Linked DNA regions of Homo sapiens: all the other regions are linked to region 2. The links are contacts of gene promoters, found by promoter capture Hi-C in blood cells and fetal thymus (Javierre and others, 2016). All regions are on one chromosome and are shown on one strand. Each heading gives the region's core, a stretch centred on a gene start or on the middle of the fragment in contact. The rest is flanking DNA. Distances are from core to core; before and after follow the strand shown.

Region 1 (4,565 bases), core at 1,014-3,513, 1.2 Mb before region 2:
TGGCGTGAGCCATTGCGCTTGGCTTAATCTTTTAAGTTTTTTGTCTTCTATGTTGTCTGGGCTGGTCTCAAACCTCTGGCCTCAAGTGGTCCTCCCACCTTGGCCTCCCAAAGTACTGGGATTACAGGCATGAGCCCTCATGCCTGGCCTATATTTTACTTTCTTCTAAAATTTTAAAGCTTTATATTAACCAACTCATATTAACTAAGCAAAAAATTAAGAAGAGTTGAGATTTTTCTCTGAGAAAATATATGCACTGAATAGTTCATGACTAGACTAAATTTAAGAGTCATAGAAAAACCATGGAAGGGGCTTGCCTTTGTGTTATTGTGTCGATATATCCTTCTGTGGTAAGTAGAATAAAGGCCTACCAAAGATGTCCACATTCTAAACCCCAGAACCTGTGAATATGCTACCTTACATAGTGTCTTAGTTCATTTGTGCTGCTATAACAAAATATTTGTGACCGTGTTATTTACAAACAAATTTATTTCTCACAGTTTTGGATGCTGTAAAGTCCAAGATCAAGGTGCCAGCCAAATCGGTGCCCAGTGAGGGTCATTCTCTGCTTGCAAGATAGCGCCCTGTTACAGCATCCTCTGAAGGGAATGGATGCTATGTCCTTATGTGGCAGATGGAACCAAAGGGCAAAAAAGGGATGAACCCACTCTCTCTAACCCTTTTATAAGGGCCCTAATCCCATTCATGAGGACTCTGCCCCCATGACTGAGTCACCTCTGAAATACCATCACATTGGTGATTAAATTTTAGCATATGAATTTTGGGGGACACATTCAAACCACAGCATGTGGCAAAAGGGACTTTGCAGATGAGATTAAGTTAAAGATACTGAGATGAAAAGGTTTTCTTGGATTATCCATGTAAATAATCACAAGGGTCCTTATAAGTGAAATGAGAAAGCAAGAGAGTCAGAGTCAGAGATTTGAAGATGCTTCATTGTTGGCTTTGAAGATGGAGGAGGGAGTCAGCCAGGAGGTAAGGAATGCTAATGGTCTCTTGAGGCCAGAAAAAGTAAGAAAATGGATTCCCCACTAGATATCCCACAAAGGAATGCAGAATTCCTGACTGCTTGATTTTAACCCAGTGACCAAGGTTAACCATTTTGGACTTCTGACCTTCAGAATTATAAGACAAATTTGCATTGTTTTAAGACACTAAGTTTGTGGGTAAGTCGTTATGGCAGCCATCGGCAACTACTACATCTTCCTAATGTATATAATACATATATATATATATATATATATGTAATTGGTAAATTAAAATCCCCACCCATTATGCAGGCCACTGTTAGAGACAGCTGAGTAGGATCAGTTTAGCTAGTCTGACTAGTTAGTGTTGACTAATGTGGCTAGGGTGATCGGTGAGATCAGTGAGAATATGTGACAAGTGAGGCTGGTAACAAACTGTCCAGGCAAACAAGGCGGTATCCCTCAGAAAGACTGAGTGACATGAGGCATATCAAGTGTCAGATGACCAAAGAGGGAGAGCGGCCTTCAGCGTGAATGTTCAATAGGTGTGAGAGGAACCAAGTGGGAAACAACACTCTACCCACACTTTCACTAAAGGTGAAAGAACAATGAGTAGAATGGCACACATCTGAATGCCATTTAATTTAAGAGTATCATGTACTCTGGGCTTAACATGAAGCAAGAAAGAATGAGGACAGGAATTCTATCAGAAAAGAAGACAGTTTGACATTTCATGGGCTGTAAATCACAGAGAATCTAAAGAAAGATTATATACAGAGACACCACATAGACAGTAAGAATGTTTTAAACACAGCAAACATTGAAAGAGAAACTACAAACTAGGAAAAAATATTCGCCTTATTTATTACAGGTTTATAACTTTCAAAAGTTGTCTGAGACTGCAGGTGTTGGGCACTTCATACAGGGTGTTGCAGCAGGGAGAATATCCAAAGAGAGTATTTTCTGGAAAACAGGAAACAAAGAGGCTTTCTATGACAAATTAACAATGTTGCCAGTTTGTCTGCTTTGGTCAGAAGGTATTGCAATCCTTTAGACAAGAGGTATCTGTGAGAGAGAACATGAGAGTGAGAGTCAGAGTGATTTGACCTGTTTGACTCCATTACCTTCTGTTCTTGGAACTGTTCGCTTAAAGAAGGAAGTAAAAGGAGTGGGTCAGTCTCTCAGTACCAGGAAACATAGATCAGTGTCCAGTCAAAGAAGAAAGTTTTACATTTCTCCATGGAGCAAAAGGTCCACATATTTAATTAATGAAGGTAAAGAAATTCTTACAATTCTTTCTATATATTTCTTTAATAGTTAGGAAATACACCTGCTGCTGTAATTGATAAACCCTGAAATCTCAGTGACTTAACACAATAAAGTATATTTCTTACAACACTTCAAAACCGGTGTTCTTAGTGGGCAACTCTCCTATAAGTAGTGATTTAGTTTGCCAAGATCCTCCCTTCTTGTGCCATTTTCACCATGTGACTCCTGTGGGCTCCTTTGGGGTTCTTTCTTTCCACTTAGCTTTGAGTAGAAAAGAGTGTGGAGGATCATACAAGGAAGGTTTTCATGGCCTACATGGTCTACAAGTAGTCTACATCACTTCCACTGATGTTCCACTACCCAGAATTTGGACATATGACTACCCCTAAGTGCAAGAATGGCTGAGAAATGTAGCTTATCTGGGTTTCCAGGAGGAAAAGAGAATGGATTTTATAAATAAGTAAGTAAAATTTTAAATAAGAATTATAATTAAAAATATTAAATGATAAATAGATGAACTCCCTAGTGGAAAAAAAATGGCCAATACCATTGACCAATAAAAATATTAAATATTCAGAATCATTAAGGATAAAACTAAGATACAAAAACATATTTCCCTATTAAACTGTCAATATTAAAAATAATGATAATACCATGTTATTTTCCTATGCTGCTGAGAAATAGTCTCAGACGCTGTTTCAAAAAAAAATGTGTAAAAATGTTTTTTCAGGTTTCAGAGGACAATTTGACAGTATATATCTGAAAGACTTTTAAATGGGTATAGTCTTTGATCTAGGCTTCCAATTCAAAAAAATTATCAAGAATAAATAATCAGAAAAGTATTCAAAGATTTCTGTCTTTCATATTCTACATCACATCGATGAGCAAATCATGTTAGATCTAGCTTCATAATATGTCCAGAATCTGATCCCTCTTTCAACCTCCACTCCTTTGTTACCTATAATCCGATTTTCACATAGTAGTCATTGTAATCCTTTTAAAACTTATGTCAAATAAGGTCACTCTTCAAAAGCCTTTAAGAGCTCTATAGTTTTCTCATCTCAGAGGAAAAGCCCAACTGGCCCCATGTGATCTACCCCATCGCAGTCCATGACAAACTTCTCTGGTCTAATATCTACTTTCTACCCCTTCTCTCCTTGCTCCCTTTCATCGGGCTACACAGACTTCATTGCTGTTCCTACACGAACCAAGCATGCTTCCTCTTCAGGGCTTTGCTGTTGACCGTCCACATTTCTGCTTCACTGTCTGTGAAGCTGATCCTATTCCCTCCATGTAAAAAGCAATGTGCTCCCTCCACCCACCTTTCCTATTTCCTTCAATAATATTTATCTCCATCTGATATACATCCTTGGTAAATTGAATTTTGCTTATCTTCCTGTGTTGTGATGTCAGGAATTTTGTGTCCCTTAAAATAGTGCCAGGCACCTAGAAGGTGCTCAGTAAACATTTGCCAAATGAATGAATAGTAAAATATTATAAAAATTCTGAAACATTGAAAAATAGGAGACTGGTTAAATAAACTGGGATGGTTGACTTAAAGGCCATACAGTCAGACAAGATGGAATCAAAAGCATAAAATAAATGAGAATGTGATTCTGTATCTCACTGGAGGAAGTGCTGGAAATACCAATTTCCAAACAGATAATAGTTACGTTTCTTACCCAATTGGTTTCTGAAACCATCGGAAAGGGAAGTTTCTCATCCTAAAGTTACTTTTACATGTATCAACTAATTCTATGGTCTCAAATAGATTTCTCTGTGAAGTAAGTGTGTGTGTGTGTGTGTGTGTGTGTGTGTGTGTGTCCAAGGGCTAAATGGATTTTTTTTAAAGTAATCTTATTATTTGCAGATTACATTGGTCATTGGTCAGCTAGGGCTGCTACAAAATAATACCACAGACTGCATAGTTTAAAGATCAGAAATTAATTTTCCCACAGTTCTGGAGGCTCCAAGCCCAAGATCTATGTCCAGCAGGGTTTGGTTTTTGGTGACAGTTTTCTTCCCAAGTTGCTGGTGGCCTTTCCATGATGCATGCTTGTGCAGACAGCGAGCGAGTGAACAAGCTTTTTGTGTCTCTTCTTCTAAGAACATTCATTCTACCAGATTAGGGCCCTATTCTTATAACCTCATTAACCTTAATTACCTCCTAAATGTCCTGTCTCCAAATATAGTCACATTGCAGATTAGGCTTTAACGTGTGAATGGCAAGGGGAGGGGCACACAATTCAGTCTCAGGTATATTTACCCTGTTTATTAAAAAAGCAAACAGTCACTAAACCTATTTTG
Region 2 (4,397 bases), core at 1,540-4,039:
AGGCACAAATTAAAATTGGAAAATATGTACAATTACATTTAGCAACTAGTAAAGAACAGCACTTTACATGCAAAATTAGTTACTCTATTGTTAGGAAGCAAGTTAAAAGCCTATTTGACATTTAAGATGCTTTTAGAGGCCTTCCATTTTTTGTTTTTGAAACATTACAGCACAAAGTTTCAGAGAACATTTCAAAGGATAGTGTGGACATAGTATCAGGATAACAAAAAGACTTTTTCCATACCATAGCAGTACTTGTTTAAATGATCATTCAAACTAAAATGAAATGCTTTACTAACTGAATTTTTATAGTCTTTGGAACCATGAACCTAAAATTTACCAAATTTATACTACCACATGGAAAGAAGGTTCTAAAGCCACAAATGAAGTCAGTCACACTCTTCATCTTCCAGAACACGAAGGAAGAGGTTTTTTCCTTTGGAAAGTTAGTGGACAGTTCTCTCACTACTTATCCATTCAGATGTTAGACAATAGATGTCACAACCTGTTTTATAATCTGTGTTTTTTTGTGTGTTTTTTGTTTTTTTGAGACAGTCTCACTCTGTCGCCCAGCTGGAATGCAGTGGTGCGATCTCAGGTCACTGCAACGTGTCTCCTGGGTTCAAGCTATTCTCCTGCCTCAACCTCCCGAGTAGCTGGGATTACAGGTGCACACCACCCTGCCCGGCTAATTTTTGAGTTTTTAGTAGAGACGGGGTTTCACCATGTTGGCCAGGATGACCTGAACTGACCTGAAACTGCTCGAGAAATAGCACTGGTAAATCAGAAACATATTCCTGAAGGAGCTGGTAAACAACTAAAAAAAAAAATACTTTAGACACAACAGAACTGTTTTTGCAATAAAAAGTGTGGTTTATTAATCATAATGTTTATCTTTGGCAGCTAGCTTGTTTTTCTTTCTGTCCCTCCAGACCAAAACATAGCAAATACTTTGTTTTCACTCCCTACTCCAAATTTCTGTGCACGGCAGGAAGCAAATGGTATTCAACACCCAGTATTAGTCAAAAGAATATGAATCCTACACTGTGCATCAAAAGGTGTCAAATAGCTTTCACACAATATTTTCTGAAAGGCATGTTAGATTCTCATGGGCTTTATTTAGTTTAACAAGTTTCACTAGGGGAACCTATTTCCTAAAAGTTTCCATAGTGAATCTGATACCTTCAAACCGCTGTCTCAGTAGTCAACAAATTTGCCTAAAAGTTAAAATCAAGCAGTTTATTATATGAAACAATTTTTCCTTAATATCCACAACCTAGAGACTCATTCTAAACTCACTGAGAGGTTAGACAAGCTTGGATTATCGCTGTTACAAAAGAAGTTCCAAACTTTCTCTATGCCTTACATCTCTTTTACTATAGGATGACGCTTCTTAACCTCTTCTCTGAATACTGTTCTTAAATATACACAGGATTTACAAGAAAACTAATTCTATTAAAACAGTCATAAAAAGTAAACGCGATATATATATGTGCTTCTCTGTTGCATTCAATAAATTCAGTGATGTGTTACTATAATTTTGAATAAGTATAAACAGTATTTCTATATTAACTGCAATGTGATATAAACATATTTTATGATCTCTACTGATGACAGTCACAGATACTACTGTGATTTGTTGCTTATATTTTAACTGAATATTAGTTTTTAAAATTTAGTGAAATGATATACCTTTCTTTCCATCCAAGTTCATGGGTTACCTAAATTGTATGAAACCCACTATTTAGGAAGGCTTGATCAAAATTTCATATTTTACCAGGGAAGAAGTCTTACATAGAATTATTCTGGAACATCAGTATATGTAAAGCAAGGTACTAAAGTATTCCCTATGCTTAACCATTCTTCACCCCAGGGTTAAAATCAGTTTCTAGTGTCTGGTCTTTCCACCAATGACTGAGGTGTTGACCAAATGTGCTAGATCTAGAAAACATACTTTTATTTTAGAAATGTATTATATTTTATCACCCCTAAAACCTTTCCCCATAAGGTGATTGTAAAACCGCCTCATTCTTTAAATTTCTACAACACACACGTCTTACCATGGCTAACATCTTAACAAGGCAGAATCTATTTGTGATTAGATGACACTGAAATGTAGTTCCCTACCTTCCTTCCACTCATTACATTATTTAGAAGACTTTTTAAGAAATAATTTTTTTTTAGGGAGGCAGGCACTTCGTAGAACCCCCTTCACTAAAACTTTGCACTACTGGGAAGTCTCAGCTCGCCGTAACCGACTCAGTCCGGCCTAGCCGATCCCGCAGTCCCGTGACCCGCGCGGTCCAGAGCGAGAAAAGGGAACAGCGCAGGGCTCCCCGGAGCAAGGACCCCACCACACCGCACCCCACCCCACCCCCACGCCAGGCAGGACGGCCGAGGCGGGAGGACGCTGCGGTCCAGGCGCTCGCCCTCCACCCCGGTCCCGGCCCGGGCCAGGCCAAAAAGCTCGAGAGCGCGGCATCCCCGCCTGCTCCCCTCCCATCCCCGGCGAGGAAGTCACCTGAAATGACCGGCCAGGGAGCAGCGGCAGCACCACACGGGCATGGAGCGCTGCGCGAGGGGCGCCCGAGCGCGGCCGCCGTGGCCGCCTCCGCCTCCCCCGGCGAGGCTGCCCGCTCGGGGCGCCCGCTGGCTCGGGGTCGCGGGGTCTGCCGGGCGCCCCTGCCTCGCGCCTCGCCGTTGCCGCGGCTGCCCCGGCTCTGTGGCGCCGGAGTCCGCCTCCAGATAGCGGCTTCCGCTCCTCGCCTGCAGGGAGCCAGGCGCCGGAGGCGGGTGATCTCGGGGCGCCGCGATAGGGGCGGAGCGGGGCGGGGACGCTGCGACGGCGGCTGCAGCGGCGCGCGGGCCCCTCCTCGCAGGTGCGGCTGCGGCGGGCGAAGTCTGCGATTGGTGGAGCCACGGCCCGGGCGAGGGGCCGGGCCTGATGGAGCCGAGGCTGCGCGGGCAGGGGACCGAGGTCTGCAGGCAAACTGCGCGGCTCGACCGGCGGCAATCGAGACCTAGACCTCGGTCAGCGCCCCGCCGCCCCTCTGCGTGCGACTTGGTGAGGCCGGTGGGTGCGCGTCGAGAGGGCCGAGGGACGAGCGGAAGAGAAGCTGCTGCGAACTCGGGCCACCCAGATGGCCCGGCGGAGTTCCCTGCGTAAGGCGCGGCCTCGGCCACTTCGCCGAGGACCCCGGGAAGGGTCGAGCTTCCCACGCCTGAGAACCCACCTTTGGGCATTTCCTCGCGCTGCCGGGGTGCAGACGCCGGGAGCTTCCGGGTGCCTCTCCCGCTGACCCCCGCATCACAGTTACCTGGAGGACTCACCAAACCACAGGTGCCCGGGACCCGCCCACCACGCTTCTTTTATGGAAGTCCCGCTTCCGGGAAGAGGTCATCCTCCCCTCTTCATGTCTCTCAAACACCCACAAGTGTAGGAATTACCAGCACGCCGGGTGAAAATCCAGGTGCTCATCAGGCCCGCCCCAGACCACACCGGCCAGTGTGGGGAAGGGCAGGAACCCCTGCTGCTTTTTAAGCCCCTGCGGGCGTTTGTGATGCAATAGGGAGTTAGAAAAGTACTCAATAGTGAGTGTCGTTATTCGGTTTGTCAAAAATTAAAGGTGGGGAGGACAAAAATCAGGAGAGATTGATTGCATCTACTTTTCTACGGAAATGTCTAACTCCGCTTCCAAAAAAAGCCGTAATTATTTTTGTGCTTCAAATATACGTTTATGTTTATATCTTTCAACATAATTTTGTAAAACAAATGTTAAGTTTTACTGAATGTTGTCACTGAACAAACTTGTGATGAGCAGGTATTTTAGAGTCTTGGGGTCTTAAAAGAAAATCATAGGACTCAGACTGCCCCAGAGTTATGCAATCTAAGAGTATATTAACCACTTTTAAGTATTATATGTTTTTCTCTTTTTTGAGCTTTTGTCGATTTGACACGTTCATTTCATTTGAATGTTGGTTCTGAAAATGAAGCATGTAGTTACTTTTCCGTTAACATACATAACAGCATTTTAAAGTACCTAAATTCCTTTTGGAAGGCCGAGGCGGACGGATCACCTGAGGTCAGAAGTTCCAGACCAGCCTGACCAACATGGTGAAACCCGTTTCTACTAAAAATACAAAACCTAGCCCCGGGCGTGGTGGCACGCGCCTGTAATCCCAGCTACTCAAGAGCCTGATGCAGGAGAATCGCTTGAAACCGGGAGGCGGAGGTTGCAGTGAGCTGAGATCGCGCCACTGCACTCAGCCTGGGCCAAAGAGTGAGACTCCGTATCAAAAAATAATAATAAAGTACCTGGCCGGGCGCGGTGGCTCACGCTTGTTATCCCAGCACTTTGGGAGGCCGAGACGGGCAGATCACGAGGTCAGGAGATCGA
Region 3 (4,587 bases), core at 1,361-3,860, 1.0 Mb before region 2:
TATATGTGCTCAACACCCCTCTCCTCTCTTTCCCATGAAAGTCTACCATTTTAAAATGTTGGGGTCTTGAGGAATTAACACAGACTACATCCCTGTCTCTGGAGGGATAAAAGCACTAGACATGCAGTGACAAATCTAGCTTATCGGGGTAAAGTATTCATAACTATAGGATTCTAACAGTAGCAGCCATGATTAAACTTTTCTGAGACTCCCACAAAGCTTCCTCTGAAGAATCCCTTTGGATTATGAGTTTGGACAGATGGGCAGGAGCCTTACACATAGGTGGGTCTCAACTTCATCTATCATGTAGTCAGTGCTTGTGCACAATTCAGAGATGAAAGGTTATTTCCTACCTTGGTTTCATATAAATGTGTGACCAATCCTTTGACATCTATAAAGTATATAATACATCTAAGGGATTAAAAAATGATTTTTCTCCTAGTTACCCAAGATTTTAAAATCCAAATTTTCACTAAATGTAAATATAAACATCCAACTTCCTGAAACAAAATGTACTATGCATGTTTGCCTCAACATAAAGTAAATAATAAAGCTTGGTATGTACTGCTTTTAATTATTTGCTAACTTCTTTTTGTTGCATCTTAATGTACTTTTTAGGATCCCTTTGTCCATTCTTCTTCTGTTTCCAAAAACTGCTGCCACTCTGGATGGACATCTTGTCCCTAGGGATACAAATGTTCCCTTTTGCATCAATTTATTCTTTGAAAAATTATTTCTGAGCATTTTCAATGTGCCTGGCCCTAGGCTAAATGCTGGAAATATAATAATGAACAGAACCAGGTTTCCGCTCAGGTATATCCAGTGTACAACATAGCAGGATTTACAAAATGTTTATGATACAACTTAAATGTTGCCCTTCTCTGCCAGTCATATTCCTTCAATTATTCAATAACTCATTGATTTATACATGTATAAAATTTTCATTTTGCACCTATTACATGCCAGGTACTTTTGCAAAAACTGTGAAGTAGGTATTAGGTTTACACAAATCACAATGTAGAAACAACACTACTGAATCTTATAAAATGAAATACGACTACTTGGTTTTTCAATTTTTCATTGAGATAACTAATTTTTGAAGAAATTAAATTATGTTTTTAAAGAATATATTTCTAACATTTTTACCTGATAAAAATACTTACAGATTTAGTATTCCCTTCAATAATTTCTTCTTCTGGTGGTTCGAGTTTGAGATCCTTCAATAAGAGGAAGAAATGGCAGAAAAGAAAAAAAATTATATCATTTAAAACAATGCCATATATTCAAATCATAGTTCTCTCATGGCTAACATTGAACCAAAAGAACTTCATTATCTTAAAGATGAAATAATACTGATTTTTTTAAAACTCAGCTGTTCCAATAAAGACTCTTTGTACTTATTTATCAATTGTAAGAAGCTGTTTTAGACGTGTTCAAAGTATTGCTTTAAATTTACTTCTTGAATGCCATTAGAGAGCAAAGTGGAAGAGAAAGGTACATTAAAACAGAGAGGGAAAGGGTAGGAAGGTAAACGAAAGAAAAGGAAACAGAATGACTAAGCCTAACAGTCTGCTTTATTTTGCTATGAATGAGTATTGCCACATTTCTACATTTCTTGGGACATCATTATAAACATTAGTCTATTGTTACAATACATTTATACCCTGGTGTTAATTTTTCTTTATTAAATAGAAAGTGAATTAAAGAGTAAATGAAAATACGATTGACATTTGCTAAAAGTGAAGAACTCCTATAAAGACCGTGAAGTCTTAAAAAAAAGTTTTTTTTTTTATTTCCATAGGTTTTTGGGGAACAGGTGGTATTTGCTTGTACAGGTAAGTTCTTGAGTGGTGATTTGTGAGATGTTGGTGCACCCGTCACCTGAACAGTATACACTGAACCCGATTTGTAGTCTTTTATCCCTCATCTCCCTACCACCCTTTTCTCCTGAGTCCCCAAAGTCTACTGTGTCATTCTTATGCCTTTGCATCCTCATAGCTTAGCTCCCACTTATGAGTGAGAATATAGAATGGTTGGTTGTCCATTCCTGAGTTACTTCACTTGGAATAATAGTCTCCAGTCCCATCCAGGTTGCTACAAATGCCATTAATTCATTCCTTTTTATGGCTGAGTAGTATTCCATCGTACATACACACCATAATTTCTTTATCCACTCATTGATTGGCGGGCATTTGGGTTGGTTCCACATTTTTGCAACTGAAAATTGTGCTGCTATAAACATGTGTGTGCAAGTTCTTTTTTGTATAATGACTTCTTTTCCTCTGGGTAGATACCCAGTAGTGGAATTGCTGGATCAAATGGTAGTTCTACTTCTAGTTCTTTAAGGAATCTCCACACTATTTTCCATAGTGGTTGTACTTGTTTACATTCCCACCAGCAGTGTAGAAGTGTTCCCTGTTCACCACATCCATGCCAACATCTATTATTTTTTAATTTTTTTATTATGGCCTTTCTTGCAGGAGTAAGGTAGTATCACATTGTGGTTTTGATTTACATTTCCCTGATCATTGGTGATGTTGAGCATTTTTTCATAGTTTGTTGGCCCTTTATATATCTTCTTTTGAGAATTAAGACCTTAATGTCTTCTGTGATGACCAATGAATAATGCTAATGTCCTAATGTCCCCAGTGAAACCTAGTGCTTCATCTCTGAGAACTTCATTCTGTGAATGGCTATCCTAGCATTGTTTCCAATGAGGATTATGTAGAATAACTCCTTCAAATAAATAAGAAGTAAACTGAAAACTGTAGAAATCCAGACTATCTGAAATAACATATGCCTGTTAATAATAGAGCTATGTTGCTCTAGCTGTGCTGTTATTTTGTGGTGGAACTTTCGGCAAGGTATTTAACTTCTGTGGGGTTCACTTTTCCTGCTTTGCTGTAAATTCTCTATCCCTAAATCTTTACATAGCTGCCTTCTTCTTGACTTTCACATCTCAACTCGAATATCACCTTATTAGAGAGAACTTCCAGACCACTCATTTGGAGTTTTCAACCCCCTATCTGTATTATATTGCTCTACTTTTTCTTTATAGCACTTTCCATTATTTTATATTATCTTGTTTCATGGATTTGTTGTTTTTTTGGTCTGTCTCTTCAAAGACCAAGGATATTCTTTTCATCACTGCTGTATTTCCACTGCTGGAATAGTACCTGACACACAGTAGGTACTCAATAAATGTAGAATAAATGAATGGCTGAATGAATGCCCTGTCTAAATCATAGCTTTTCTATGAGGGCAAAATTATATGTAATGTATACAGATGTGAATTGAAAACTAAAAAGTACTCCACAGATAGAAACTGTAGCCTAGTAATCTCCTTGACCACTATTTCCCTGACACTAACTAAGGTACAATTTCAGTTCTACCTTTCCTGATCTAAGGTATGAAAAACTTAAAATAAGTTGTATGAGTGTGACATCCTGAATTACATCCTTTCAAATGAGAATGTCCTGTGATCTGATGATACACTAAGGACTTAATGAAGAATGAAGAGCTTTTATTGTTGTCCTTGTTGTTATTTTGTTTAACATTAAAGGTGGGGTTTTTTTTTGTTTTTTATTTTTGTTTATTTTATTTTATTTTATTTTTTTGAGATGGAGTTTTACTCTTTCGCTCAGGCTGGAGTGAAGTGGCACGATCTCGGCTCACTGCCACCTCTCCCTCCGGGGTTCAAGCGATTCTCCTGCCTCAGCCTCCCAAGTAGCTGGGATTACAGGCGCACACCACCACGCCTGGTTAATTTTTGTATTTTTAGTAGAGATGGGGTTTTGCCATGTTGGCCAGGCTGGTCTCGAACTCCTGACCTCAGGTGATCCACTTGCCTCAGCCTCCCAAAGTGCCGGGATTACAGGCGTGAGCCACTGCACCCAGCCATTAAAGGTGTTTTCTACAGGGATCAAGCAAAACACAAGACATAACCTCAGTATATTCCCATAAATTCTCATGGAGGCTGAAATGGATACAAGGAATACCTAAAGAAACCTATTTATAGAAATTGCTAAGTGTTATATTCCCCTACATGCATAGAATAGGGCTTGGTTTCAGTGCAGGAAGAATTTATCTTAAATACTTAATGCAGAGAAAAGATAACATATGTTCCACTGCAGGTACACTTCCTTCTAATGGGAAGATCAAAACTAGTGTTAACAACTACAGGAGACAAGGTACTCAGCAGTGAAATGACGTACTCAGCCACTGTTTGGCAATTGGGTAGTTTTTCTCTAAAAACCTAATCAGCACAGTACAGAATAAGTTGTAGAAGAAAACTGAACTTGCACTGCTTCTCCATTCATTAAGACAGCTCACACTGAGCTCCACACAGCTGGAGCCCCATGCTGAAAACCATCACATTGTACTTTTAGCAAACCTCTTATACACTGTCCTCAAAATGAAACCCTTTTATAGGAAGGGAGGGAGAAAAAAAGTCTAGAAAAAAAAGAAATGTCACATACTTTGATTTAAAGTTAGAAAAAAAGGCATAAGTTTGAGCCATTCCTTTAAAAATAACTATAAAAATTTCAGATACCAAATAAAGACAGTTTTGTCCAAAAATTCAAAACC
Region 4 (4,358 bases), core at 167-2,666, 1.1 Mb before region 2:
GCACTGGCACGAACTCAGTTCACTGCAACCTCTGCCTCCCAGGTTCAAGTGAGTCTCCTGCATCAGCCTACCAAGTAGCTGGGATTACAGGTATGCACCACCATGCCTGGCTAATTTTTTGTATTTTTTAGTAAAGAGAGGATTTCACCATATTGGCCACTGGTCTCGATCTCCTGTCCTCAGGTCATCTGCCCACCTTCGCCTCCCAAAGTGCTGGGATTACAGGCGTGAGCCATAGCGCCCAGCTAATTATTTTTATTTTTAATCTTCATAACCATTATAACACAAAATGTACAAAACTGGTTTTTAAAAATAGTGTTAGAAGTTATATGGCCATTAAAACCCATAAATAATATTTATATGCTAGCTTCTGCTTACTGGAATAGGCCTGCTGTCACAGTGATAAAACTTTAAAATAAGGTGGGATGTCCCAATAAATGTCAAAATGTTGTAGGTTTTAAAATTGTGTCAAAAATCAAGCCTAACTTTTCCTCTTGTTCTACGAAATTCCAGTAATCATTGTTGAAATTAAATGTAACATGAAATTAATACAAAATAGGGCAGCAATTAAAAGACATTAAATTGTATTGAGCCTGGATTCACAGAACAAGAATTGATCCAGTTTTATCTGTAGTCAGTTTTTCTTTCTAAATTAGGAAATGCTCTGAGAGAGAAAGAGTAATATATGTGCCAATGACACTAGTAGTGTCTAGAAAATAATTCCAGATAATGATAAAGTTGGGTCAGAAAACTATCAGATTAGTCCACATTTTCAATTCTTGCTATAGCATTTTCCCCCTCACTGATAATTCAGTAGCCTCCTGTTCTATCCTCTTTTCCTACTCTATTTTTGATCAGGTTGTTTCTGTCCTGGAAAGACTCAAGACACTAATAAGAACAAGCTTTGTTCCTTTCTTTCCACATTGGTTTGGGAGAGATGGAAATGGGTGTGATGACAGACACAAAAATTACAAGTGTCAGGACTTCGTGGAAATTTTGACCGAAGACCAATATATTTATGATGATGCCAAAGTCCTATTCATTCCTTCATTTAGGAAATAATTTCTTCTTGCCATATACTGTACTATAGTAATACTGTAATAGGGTAGGGAATGTGAAGATAAATAAAATGTGGATCTCACTTTCCTGCATTCTATGTACAAAGCTTGCAGCAGTCATATTTACAGAAGTTGTATTCTAAGATTTTTCTCCCTATTTTATTTTATTTTATTTTAATTTTATTATTATTGTTTTTTGACATGGAGTCTCGCTCTGTCGCCCAGTCTGGAGTGCAGTGGTGCGATCTTGGCTCACTGCAACCCTCCGCCTCCTGGGTTCAAGCAATTCTCCTGCCTCAGCCTCCTGAGCAGCTAGGATTACAGGCATGCCCCACCATGCCCAGCTACTTTTTGTATTTTTAGTAGAGGTGGGGTTTCACCATGTTGGTCAGGCTGGTTTCGAGCTCCTGGCCTTGTGATCCGCCCACCTCAGCCTCCCAAAGTGCTGGGATTACAGGCGTGAGCCACCGCGCCCAGCCTTCCTCCCATTTATAACATCATAACACTATACATCCCCCACTCATCCCCAGGAGCACTGTATCTTTGCATTTTACTCTTTTGGTTTCCTTGATACTCCACTGCTTAAAGAAAGGCATCTCCCCAAGCTTCTCTTAGATATTTTGTTCTTACCTACATACTTTCTTACCAATCCCAGGCTTCAACAATCATCTTGCTGTGGTTAACTCCTGAAAATTACATCTGCAACTGGAGTCCCAAACTCTGGCTATTTCCTGGTGCAGGTTTTTTTTTTTTTCTTCCCTGGCCTAGATTATTGCCCTAATTGGTTAATCTCTCTCCTCTCCATGACATCCACCTTTCTCCCTCCTGTCAGTTATTACTGATTAGAACATGTCACCATCCCTTTCAAAACTTTAAATTACTCCAGGTTGCTGTTCAAAAGCCTCATTATGACATTCTCAACCTCACTTCTTACTCTCTCGTCTGTCTCCACTTGTACTGTAAGTTTTATGCCTTAGTGACACCTTTGCACCTATAAAGCACATTCACACTTCTTGCATTTGTTCATGTCCAAATTTACCAAAGGACCCTTCCTCTCCATCTTTACTTTTCCACATCTCATCTTTTAAGGACTAGCTCAAGTCATTTTCTTAAAAACTATTAAAGAAGTAATCACTTCTCCAAGTCCACAAAACACATATTATCTCTAATGGTGACAGCTATTTTATTCCCTTAGCTGGGTTTTTTTTTTCTGCTAAAATTTGTCTTTGCAAACGTTTCTGTGAAGCTGGACAGAAAGCACTTTATGGGTAGGGATTTTGCCTTTAGTTTGTACCCTTTGTAGCTCCCAACACAGTGCTTGTTCAGAAATGGAGCTCAATCAGTACCAGTAAATTAGGCTAAACACCCTGATGCCTAGCACATATTAATACTCAGTAAATATATATTTAATCAGTAATTGGATGGGTAGATGAACAAATTGTATCCAGTACACTAAATTACAATATGATAAAATATTTGAATAATTTTTTGAAATATGATTTGGTGGTACTTCAAGTTTGTTAATATGATTAGCAAATGACTAATGGTTCAGTATAGCTGGGAATACAAATAGGGTCAACTAAGGACAAAATAGAACAAATATATAGATCTTTTATTTCTTCCCCCCAATCTCAAATCATAAAATATATAAAGAAATAAATAAGAGAGTACCATTGATAAAATATAGAAGGAAAGAGCATACTATCTTTTACGAAACAAACAAACAAAAATACAAAAGGACACAGAAGCATTGTAAACCCAGGATAATTACCAGGAACTAGCATTGTAGATGTGAGTTCTGGAGTTTCCAAGAAATCCACATTACTTCTTTGGAATGTCTTGCTATAATTTGTCTGAAGGTGGCTGTATAAATAATTATAGGTTAAGGCTGTGCATTTTTATTTACAATCTTCCCAAGTACAGCAGAGATCAAATTTGATCAAGATGGCAAAGTTTGGGATGATTTGGATTAAATAAGCTCCTGGATACAAGCTTCTTTTAATGGTTGTTCAGCTTTCAAAAATGACTCAGGAGTAATTTAATAATTGTCATCAGAAACTTTTTTAAAAAGGTTTTAAACCAGGAGAACATTACTTTTTTAGAGGATAAAAAGTAGATTTTATTGCACCAAATTTAAATATATCTTGTTTAAAAACAAGATAGATAATAAGACAGACTGTATATTTTACATTTCTAGATAATAAAAATAAATCTAAAAAGCTATGTGAAAGTGTTGGCCTGGAAGCAGAGTCGAATAAGTTACCTCGTTTCCTTCTATGGCTGAAATACTGTTGGTGTCATTTTGCCTTCCTTATAGCACAAAGTGCCTTCAAAATTGCCACAAAAATAAAACTTTTAGGTGAAACATGGATCAACTGAATTTCCAGGTATTCTATTACTTCCATCACCATATTTAACACCCTAAACATGGACTTATTTAGAGAGCTGTATTCTCTGTACCATTTTAAACTGTCAGGAATTGTTATATACTCTCAGAAGAGCAAACATTTCTTTCATTCCATTTTAAAATTATATGTTTGTTTGCTATTAGTAATTATTTTAATTTTTAAAGAAGCTGATTTATTTTAATTTTTGACAACGTCTTGAATTTCCACTTTATTTTTAGTGTTTAAAGACATTTAGAAGGTATTGGGCTGCAATGACTCTAAAAATTATATGTAGTTTTATTGTAAAATAAAATAACTGCACAGACTATCCTATGAAAAATTAGGAGGTAAAGCTTTTTTTCCCACCTCACTTTTGTCCATCCTTTTTCTCCACCCCCACCACTACCCTCACCAGCTTTAGACACTCATACCCCCTATCTATATCTTCTTATCTGAAAACATCAGTAAAATGGTAAGACTCAAAGTGGGATCATTACCAAAAGTATTTGTACTTCAAGAGAGAAGTGGTTTCTAAGCTATTAAATACATTTTTTAAAGTGTGTAGAATTCATGGTAATGGGCAAATGGGACAGGTTTTAAGGTAAGGTAAAAGAGAATGGAACTTTCCTACAAATCCTAAAATTACATCATGCATATTGCCACCTTCCTGGCTTCACATAAAATCAGGCTTGCTCACAACTTACCTATTCCATACACTACTATTCTCCCAGAACTCATAGATCATGTAGCGAGATTCATTTGAAAGCTTCTGTATAGAAATACTGAAATGGAAAATAAAAGGCATAATTAGCTACTGGAAATTAAAGATGCAAGCTAACTTTTCTAATATCCATATGTAGTATGAAACAATCTTATCCATTAATAGAGGAAACAATCTAAGGTGCCTGCATGA
Region 5 (4,759 bases), core at 1,092-3,591, 1.1 Mb before region 2:
GATGAGAAATGTAATCTGATCACTTGTGGGTTTACAGGATATAATGCTTCCTTTTGAGTGTTTTAGAAAGATCATTATGTATGCCTTGTGATCCATAAACTATCATTCTCTCCCTTTTATGAGTCCGTTTTTCTCTGAAGTTTTTACTGTGAAATGATTCTTCTTTTTAAAATATATTCTAATTCCCCCCCACCCCGATTCTTCCTTCTCCTCTTCCTCTTAATTCTCTTTAACCAAGATTTCATTCTCCAGAAATCTACATTATCAGATGTTTGCTTGTTCCTAGAAAAATCCCCCCATTGGTCCTTAAATATTTTCCCTGTATTAAGTCATTATTTATTAAAGGAGACAGCTGTTATTGTGGAGCGATCTCCAGAACAGGAGTCAGCTCTTGGCTTTGCTGAAGTTGTGTATAACCCTTAAAAAGTCAGAATTTCTGGGTTTGTTTTCTCCTTTGTAAAATAAAGAAATTAGACTTCATAATTCCAAAGATTGTTTGAATTTCTAACATTGTTCTATTCTGGAGCTTTGAGGGAGTTTTTTTTTAGGATTAAGGACTACTGGCCTAACAAATACTGCTCACATGGAGGAAAAAAGCTTTTTAATTTAGAAAAACCCCATGGAGAAAAATGACCATTGTTTAGATAACAAGTAAGACTTTTCCAAAATGAGGAATTTTTGTGACTTTCAACATCTAATGATCCTAAGTTCTGAGATTACAGTGGACTTTTTAAATGTAGTGCAGAAATTTAAAATAGGTAGGATACTGGTGATCGGTTGTTTTAAAGTGAAAATATAGGCATGGTGGTGCATGCCTGTATTCCCAGCTACCGAGGAAGCTGAGGTGAGAAGATCACTTAAGCCCAGGAGTTCAAGACTGTATTGAGCTATGATTATGCCAAAGTGAAAAGAGACAAAATGAATAAATCTAAGTTAATTTAATTATTATAGGTTTAATCTATAATAATCCAATTATTAATCATTTAAATTAATAATCTTATTCTAATTATTGTAGGTTTACTAACTGTGGAATCTCCAGAATTACAAGTCCCATATAAGAGGAGATGGAGCTACAAGTAAATGTTTCCTTGAGGTAAAATCTGAGAGAAAGGGAAAGGCCAAAAGTACAAGAAATAATCTGTCTAAATCAGTTTAAGGCTGAAGTAATGGATAGAACATTGAAATGAAAGGCCAGGAAGCACTGTTTATTGTGGCAATTAGGCTGCAGCATCTGTCATTCTATTGATCTCTTGGATTGATTCCATTTATCTGGTGGGCCAGGCCAGTGTCCCCTGACTACTTCACCTCTCTCAGTGCATTATTTGGAGAGAGTTGTCTTCTATATAAAAGAAGCCCTTGTTTTCCATCAAGCTGCACTCCCCTGCTAGAACCTTAGCTCCTCTGCAAGGAGAGTAGGGTTAATGTATTAGGTTGGTGCAAAAGTAATTGCGGTTTTTGCTATTTGAAAGTCGTAGCAAAAACCGCAGTTACTTTTGCAGCAACCTAATACTTGGTGTTATTTTTCCAAGACAAATAGATATGTCTAATAAATTTTAGTGACTCGCTGATTTATTAATTAATTCAACCATTGAATAAACATTTAGTAAGCATCATCATAGACCAGGCATTATGACAAGCGCTGGTGAAGTAGCTGTGGACAAACCAGATGTGCCCCTGGCCTCGTGGAGCTTATGGTCTCTCTTATATTAGATTTATAATCTTCACTGCTTGTTCTGTCCATGTCCCTCCACTTCCCAAGCCTCCAAAAGAGTAGATTTGAGCATATTTCTGTCATTGAAGGCGTTTTTTTTTTGGCAGATTAAAAATTATATAGTACAAATCTTAGAAGAAAAATTCACAGGGTTTTACTGGCTCTAATGCCCTTTTAATGATTGTTAAGATCACCCTCTGAAATTTTCTTAGGAGATTTCTTTGAGCAAAGCTGAGGAGTGTATGGGTTGGTGTCCTTTTATGTAGTGTAGCAATATGTCACTTCCTCCTCTCCCCCTAATGCCCTTGTTTTCTTTATAAAACTGTCTTGCATTTAAGTTTCCTTTCTATCATACTGTGTAAGATAGAGACCTGGGATTACGAGAGAACTATGTAATGTTACTGTACAACTCAAGGAAAAGGCCAGAGAGGAAGCAACTTTTGTTAATAATGCTACTGCAAATAATTATTAAAATAATATTCATTATCATATACCAGGCAGTGTGTCTTGAATTTCTAGTGAGGTACATATTCTTTCCCCAAGAATAATGTCTTTATTGAGATCTGACAAAGTAATCTGCAAATTGCAAGACCTTAAGTATATTGTTGACTCATTGTTTCTTTAACATGTTTTTTTCTTCTTGATTAATACATTACAGGTCACTCTGGATCACGCTCAAATTCTTTTCATGGATTTAAAATTATTTTTATAATTTAAGACATGTACAGCTTCTTTTGAATTTCAGTGTTTGGCAGTGTTCTGTTATAAGCCTCCCAGAAACATAAGCATATCGTCATTTCAAAGTGGCCTCTTTCAGAGCCTTGGCTGCTGCAGAAATTTGTCTTATGAATCATTTGAACGAATACCACTTGTTGCTAATCCTTAGCAGTCTGAAAAAAATCCTATATTATAACCCAAGGATCAGGTAGAAATATGTGTATTTTAAACATACCAAAATGTTTTATGCTCTAATTCTTTTTAAAATATCACAAAGTTTAGGACCTAATACAGTGGATAGAAAACCTTTATTTCAAAAATAGCTCTTATTATGCTTAGCTATTGTGATTATATTTTATAGTGTTACAGAAGCCTCTTGAGATACCAGTTCTCTTTCGTGCTTCAATCATATGTTAGAGTGTGGCCCTTTCTAAATGTCCCAAGACAAAACTTTACCTTGGAAAAGTCTTCTATTCCTGTAGTTGAGATAGTTACAGAAAGGGGTTAGGCAGTCTCCTTTAGAAATCCCATTCCAGAGTAGTATATCAGGATTCCTTTTCTCAGACTTTTGTAACAAATATACACTTCTGGTAGATACTTGATTTTGAAAGTGGGCCTCCACCCTTCACTCACTCACTGAGTCAACCTTAGGACTCTCAAAAAAAACACTGTGTGTGTGTCTTTGTATTATGGGAATTTTCAAACATACACAAAAGTAGTGTGAAACTATGACCTTCCATGTCATTATATTCATCAGTTATCAACATTTTGCTACTTGTTTCATCTGGTTCCCCATTCTTTTTGTGGTGGTTGTTGTTATGGTTTTTGAAGTTTTTAATCCCACATACTACATTTTTTTACTCATAAACACTTTGGTGCATTTCTTACATTTTTAATGGTAGGTAAATTTTGAGACTAAAAATTGTTATATTTACTTTATTTTTGTTTTGTGTCTGAAATTAGCATGGTTCCCATTTTTGTTCCATGCTGAGAAGTTTAGTTTTCTTAGGTTCATTTTTGTTTCTTCTTGACTTCCTCCAACACCTTGTTTTATTCTTGTCATAGCCAGCAGTCATTATACTGGTTCCAATATAAAGACAGAGCATGACAGCTACATAATTTATATGTATGGATAAGCAATTTTAAAACTTTGCTTTCATCGACCATTTTTATTTCCTGGGAATCAGATCACTTGTGTAAAATTTTTATTGTAGGCATAAATTACCACTCTCCTGTTAGAGACTGTATGAATTTACTAATAGGAATGGAGTGACATTTTGAGTATAGATTAGTAAAAGGAAACTGGGTTATTGGGATAGACCTAGGCAAACATGATTTAGATTTTATCAGAGTTAAGAATTATTTTACTTGATAAGAGTCTCATGGATGTTTGTGCTCTAAAAGTAAGATAAATTGGCTAGCTTTGAAAAATAAATAAAAGAACGTGGGAAAATCTTGATTGTTTCTTCTTTACTTATATTGCCTCTATACTCAAACCAGCCATAGTAATTTCTCCAAGACTCTGATTCAGTGACTAATATCTTTTCAGCGGAGCTCCCACCTCCATATACAGCCATTGCCAGTCCAGACGCCAGTGGTATTCCAGTAATAAACTGCCGTGTGTGCCAATCACTAATCAATTTGGATGGCAAGCTTCACCAGCATGTGGTTAAGTGCACAGTTTGCAATGAAGCTACGGTAAGTGGAGATTTCCATTAGAAAAAATATAAATTGTTATTTGACATTTTATTCCTAAAGGAAGTACTTCAATAATGTTACTTAAAAGTATATGTGGGCTGGATACAAATATGGTAATCTTTTTTCCTGTCTTTTCTTCTGTCTCTCTTTCATCATAGGATACCTCACTGTGTTTAAAGCTAACCCCATTAAGAGAATTTCATGGTGAATTTAAATATAATGCCTTTTGGCTTTTTACTTTCAAAAACTAGACTGAGCATGGCAGTTACGTATAAATACTTTCAATATCTATCCACATCACAACTACATTCATTCTTGTTTTCATTAAAATGAAAATATTGTGTACTAAACTTCATTACAGATGTAAACTTTGCCCTATTTATGTGGAAAATTATTTGAAGTTATTTTATGTCTGTAGGATGTCACTATTGTTTTTCTGGGCTTTTGTGATTATGCATTTATTATTAGCATCTGTGCCAAAGTGTTTACAAATAGTTTGACATTTTATTCAATTTAGTTGATAGTAATTTAGGAATGTTTAAAATATTGAATAACACCTTTCCTTTTTTAAAAATTGAGCTTTGGGGAGCAACTAAATTTTCAGCAGTATTTTTATAGCTTCAAGTAATAAAC
Region 6 (4,579 bases), core at 323-2,822, 1.1 Mb before region 2:
GCTTCAGATTTAAATATACTATCTCTATTCACTATCTAGCCTAGAATTATTTCAACTTGATATCTCATGGTCATTTCAAGCACAACCTGACCCAGCATTCCCACCTTACTCTGCAAACCAATCTCCCATGTGTATTGATAAATATATTATGTTTTTCTTTTTCACCCCCTACATTATTTCTAGAAAAAGAATATATTATTTTAATGAATGTTATCCTGTCTGTCCAACTGACCAACCAAGAAATATTAGTGTATTTTTTATCATTCTCCATATTTAAATGGTAATATCCTATCAATTATGTCCCTTGACATTTTAATTCTGTCCTCTTATTCTCATGATTTCTACTTCAGTTCATGTATTCAGCATCTCTCACCAGGACTATTGCATTGGTTTTCTAATTTATCTCTTGACCTCCAATACTGCAATTATCTATTCATTTACTAGAGTGGTAGTTCCTAAATGCATACGTCATTTTAGATTCTCTGGCATCAAATCTTTTAGTGGCTCCCAATTTCTTAGCCATGGCATACAGTTGTGCAAGTTGTATGCTGCACAACCCGAAGAGGTACAATTTCCATTGTTATTTTAGGTTTGTATATTTAGTTTCATATAAATTATTCTGAGGACTTCTTTTACTTATTGGCATAAATGTACCATATGGTTTACTATCAGCCCATTGCCTAAAATCCAAAATCAAACTCCAAACTTCTTTTAGTCTTTGCCTAACTTTTCTAGGGATATCTTTGTTTTCTTCTGTCTCTACACACACAACCTAGTTATTTCCTAGCCCCAACAAATTGCACTTCTACTTCCACAAACATATTATGCAGTTTCTTTCTTCTGTTCCTGAGTCTTATCCTGCTAGACCTAGAATGGCCTGGCTACTCCTTTCCTTGCCCTTGTCTACCTAGAAAACACCTATTTAACCTAAAAAATTAGCTGAAACATCCCTTGCTTCTACTCTTCATCTGTAGAAACATTCTGTGGCACAAAGGTTATTCTGCTGCTTATTCCTTGAACAAATTTTCTTTTCACACCTGAACAATTCTAATGTAATCAGCTGAAATGACTTACTCCCCCATCTATTCACATTTTAAGCTATCCTTAAGTCTTGTGTAATAAAGCCATCCCTGGCTGCCTTGTCTGAAAATTGTAATGTAAAGAACATTGTTTGCCGCCTTTTCCCCTTATAAATTCCTGTAGCACTAGCTACACTACCATTTTCCAGGTGTTCTTCATAATCCTAGTGTTTCATAAGGTGTTTTTGTGAAGCGAAAGATTAATAATTTGAAGAGTGAATAGTTAGATGTTTGAGAGCATTGAATGGTCTTTTCAGCTTGGAGATTCACTGTCCACATTTTTGTATATGCCCTTGACTTTCACATGCAGTAATATAAAAAACCAATTAGCTGTAAAAATCATCCTTTTAAATGCATAGCTCAGCTCATATGACAGTTGGGGACCAAAAATGAAGATTAAGTGACAACCAGGACTATCCTGAAGGTATATGCCAACACTAGGGATCTACAGCCTTGGAAGAATGAGAGAGAAGGCATTGGCCTCACACAAGGTAGCGGGGTTAGAATACTGCCTCCTCCCAATAAAGTACTTAAAGTACTCTTCCCCTGGAAAAGAGTGAGTTAGGAAAAAGAAATCAACCAGAAAAGGAAGATTGCAGAGGAAAAAATTTATAAGAACAGTGAATTTAGGTTTATATTTTTATATCACTTATGCGATCTAGGAAAACCTAGTTCCAGAAACTGACTTAAAGTTTAGGGTTAGTATCAGTCTAGGGAGCCTGCGAAAAGCAAATGAAAGTTCTGTATGTAGGAAAGCACCCCCAAACTATGCATGCCAAAATTTTTTTATATTGAGATCTGCCAAAATAAGTTTTCAACAAAAGTTACTAGTCATAGGAGAAAACAAGATTCCAGAAGCATAATCAACATTGACAACAAACAGCATAATTAGACCTCTAAAAACTTCAGATTTATAATTATTAAATATGGAGTATGTTAAAACTATGCCTAAGATGTTTTAAAATAAAAATAAGAGAAAACATGTAAGACTATTTAAAAATTACCAGGTACTCACAGAAATGTATATGTGAGTGTTTGTAGCAAATTTGACACATGCAACAGCTTGGATGAATTGAATTTATGCTGAGTAAAAAAAAAAACTTAGCCATACAAGGTTACCTGCAGTAAGATTTCATTTATGTAACATTTTTCAAATGACAAAATTGTAGAAATAGGGAACAGATTAATGATGGTGTGGCAGGCACAGGGTGCGGGATGGGCAGAAAGGAGGGTGTGGTTATAAAAGGATCCTTACAGTGATAGACTGTTCTCTATTTTAGCTGTGGCAATAGATACATGAACCTAAACGTGATAAAATTGCATAAAATTAAAGAAAAATCCATACTCATATACCTGAGAAATCTGAATATTGGTGGATTATATGAATGTTAATATCCTGTTTATAATATTGTATTATAATTTGCAAGATTTACTATGGGGGAAATAGGGCAAAACGTACATGGTATTTTTATGTGTTATTTATTACAACTGCTTGTGAATCTATAATTGTCTCAAATAGAAATTTGCAAAAAATAACCAGATAGATATAGAAAGAAACAATAGAACTTCTAGAAATTATTACAGAAATTAAAATGCACGTACGGTTTAAAGAACAGATCAGCTAAAGGTGAAGACTAAAGTTGTGAATTGGAAGATAGAGGTAAGTGAATTACCCAGAATCTAGCATAGAGAGACAAAGATGAATGTAAGATTAAGAGAAAATATATTATTAAGATGCCAATTATATATCTGATCTGGAAGGAACAAATAAAGAATGGGATATGGCATTTTAGGAGATAATCTCAAATAATTTTCAGATCTATGAAAGATATGAATTTTTATATTCAAAAAGAACAATGAAATCCAAGCAGGATAAGTAAATGTGTTACAGTGAAATTGTAGAAAACCTAAGAGAAATAGAAGGTAATTAAAAGCAGAGAGACAAAAGGCATATTTTCAATAAGAAAAAGATAACAGTTCTGTCAGCAAATGTCTCAACAGCAAAAATAGAAGCCAGAAAACAAGTTTTAAAATACATCAAAAATACTAAGAGAAATTAACTGTCAAACTGGTATTATACACCTATCTAAACCATCAAAGAATAATGAAGGTAAAATAAGTATATTTTCAAAAGCAAAACCAACAAACTTACAAACAAAACCCAGGGTATCTACCATCCTGGTACCCTTACTAAAAAAAAAAAAAACTGCTAAATGATGAACTAGGGAATATGAACAAATATTCCAGAAGAAATTTCTGCAGTGCAGGAAGGAAAGGTAAACCAAGAAATTGTAACAATTCACCAGAAACACTGACTGTATAAAATAGCCAAAACGACAGTACCAATTATATTAATGCTAATAAGTTTTGAGAAACAAAAATACAATAAAACTGAAATATTGGAAAACAGTAGCATTAAGATGCTAGTGGAATGTTTGGTGTTAAAACTTTCTAAAATCTTTATATTTATCAGGAAGATGGATTTAATAATTGACTTTAGTTTTTAAAACATATGAAAGTTAAAATTTTAAGTGCAACTGCCAAATGAATGAAATAAATTGTAAAACTTTCAGAATAATAAGAGGAAAATGAAATGAAAGAGTCATGGTCAATATAAAAGAAGTCTGGAAATAAAGGTAGAAAAGCAGAAAATACAGGAATAGTAGAAAGCCAAAATAAGGTGTCAGAAATAGTCCATGTATATCATTAGACTAATCTTGCTAGTAAAACTTAACAGTAATGGTAAGACTAGATGTAAGAACAGCTATATACAATTTGAGGAAGGAACACATGAATATTAGAACATAGAATGAATGTATAAGGATAGAAAAAGATACAACCATAAATCACTAACCAAAGGAAAAGACATACCAGGCAAACACTAGCCAACATTAAAATGTAATGTTAATATCAATTAAAATAACAGAGACTGCTGTTTTCTCCTTCCTTTTATTAGTAGACCTCTGAATTTGACTAGCCACTCAGCTAGAGATGGATTTCCTAGCCTGTCTTGCAGATAGTGTGGCCATCTTTAAGTTAGGACCAATGGAATGTGAACAAAAGTGATGAGTACAGTTTTCTGATACTCTCCTTAAAGACAAAATTGCCTGTCTTCGTTTTTTCTCTCCTCTTTGAATTGAGTGGAAAAGCCAACTGGCAGGAATGTTGTTACCTGTGTAGAGTTTGGCAATACCAATCAGGGAGTACAGCTGACTACCAACCCTAGGCTGTACATTTACCTTTAAGTTTTATCTGCTAGAAAAATAAACTTATTTTTAAACTTCTGTATTCTGAATTTCTGAATGTTACGTTCCTTTCTCTCTACAACCTCACCAGCATCTGTTATTTTTTGACTTTTTAGTAGTATTAATTCTGACTGGTGGGAGATGGTATCTCATTGTGGTTTTTATTTGCATTTCTCTAATGATCAGTGATGTTGAGCTTCTTTTCATAGAATTGTTGGCTGCATGTATATCTTCTTTTGAAAAGTGTCTGTTCAT

What was found. Contacts are between HindIII fragments. The CHiCAGO score rates a contact against its expected background, and 5 or more counts as called.
Region 1: a contact is called between a fragment that was not itself captured here and the fragment with the promoter of OSGIN2 in region 2, in 7 of 17 cell types (M0 macrophages, non-activated CD4 T cells, neutrophils and 4 more). The highest score is 10.4, in M0 macrophages.
Region 3: a contact is called between a fragment that was not itself captured here and the fragment with the promoter of OSGIN2 in region 2, in 1 of 17 cell types (total B cells). The highest score is 5.4, in total B cells.
Region 4: a fragment that was not itself captured here is called in contact with the fragment with the promoter of OSGIN2 in region 2 in 1 of 17 cell types (naive CD8 T cells); the score reaches 6.4 in naive CD8 T cells.
Region 5: a contact is called between a fragment that was not itself captured here and the fragment with the promoter of OSGIN2 in region 2, in 2 of 17 cell types (neutrophils and non-activated CD4 T cells). The highest score is 7.4, in neutrophils.
Region 6: a fragment that was not itself captured here is called in contact with the fragment with the promoter of OSGIN2 in region 2 in 2 of 17 cell types (neutrophils and monocytes); the score reaches 8.2 in neutrophils.

The regions. Positions count from the first base shown.
Region 1 is chr8:91,050,677-91,055,241 of GRCh38, reverse strand. No RefSeq gene overlaps it. Among named protein-coding and RNA genes, the nearest start is that of PIP4P2, 12 kb to the right of the region's middle. The HindIII fragment of the contact is 4,163 bases long and covers 182-4,344 here.
Region 2 is chr8:89,900,962-89,905,358 of GRCh38, reverse strand. It overlaps OSGIN2 (oxidative stress induced growth inhibitor family member 2), which reads right to left and starts at 2,789. Exons shown (of 6, transcript NM_001126111.3): 1 at 2,522-2,789. The coding sequence starts at 2,565. It overlaps LOC124901974 (a long non-coding RNA gene), which reads left to right and starts at 2,953. Exons shown (of 2, transcript XR_007061001.1): 1 at 2,953-3,340. RefSeq lists silencers at 1,165-1,224, 2,218-2,667, 2,698-3,037, 2,787-3,085 and enhancers at 3,379-4,144, 4,145-4,397. The HindIII fragment of the contact is 4,461 bases long and covers 1,318-4,397 here.
Region 3 is chr8:90,930,934-90,935,520 of GRCh38, reverse strand. It overlaps NECAB1 (N-terminal EF-hand calcium binding protein 1), which reads right to left. Exons shown (of 13, transcript NM_022351.5): 9 at 1,164-1,217. The region is part of intron 1 of LOC105375634 (a long non-coding RNA gene); the gene reads left to right. Among named protein-coding and RNA genes, the nearest start is that of C8orf88, 52 kb to the left of the region's middle. The HindIII fragment of the contact is 4,109 bases long and covers 556-4,587 here.
Region 4 is chr8:90,949,676-90,954,033 of GRCh38, reverse strand. NECAB1 (N-terminal EF-hand calcium binding protein 1) reads right to left here. Exons shown (of 13, transcript NM_022351.5): 11 at 4,150-4,227; 12 at 2,830-2,921. It overlaps LOC105375634 (a long non-coding RNA gene), which reads left to right and starts at 2,917. Exons shown (of 3, transcript XR_928396.3): 1 at 2,917-4,358. The HindIII fragment of the contact is 498 bases long and covers 1,168-1,665 here.
Region 5 is chr8:91,020,623-91,025,381 of GRCh38, reverse strand. PIP4P2 (phosphatidylinositol-4,5-bisphosphate 4-phosphatase 2) reads left to right here. Exons shown (of 7, transcript NM_018710.3): 2 at 3,978-4,126. Among named protein-coding and RNA genes, the nearest start is that of PIP4P2, 18 kb to the left of the region's middle. The HindIII fragment of the contact is 3,484 bases long and covers 600-4,083 here.
Region 6 is chr8:90,999,106-91,003,684 of GRCh38, reverse strand. The region is part of intron 5 of PIP4P2 (phosphatidylinositol-4,5-bisphosphate 4-phosphatase 2); the gene reads left to right. Among named protein-coding and RNA genes, the nearest start is that of C8orf88, 16 kb to the right of the region's middle. The HindIII fragment of the contact is 7,791 bases long and covers 1-4,579 here.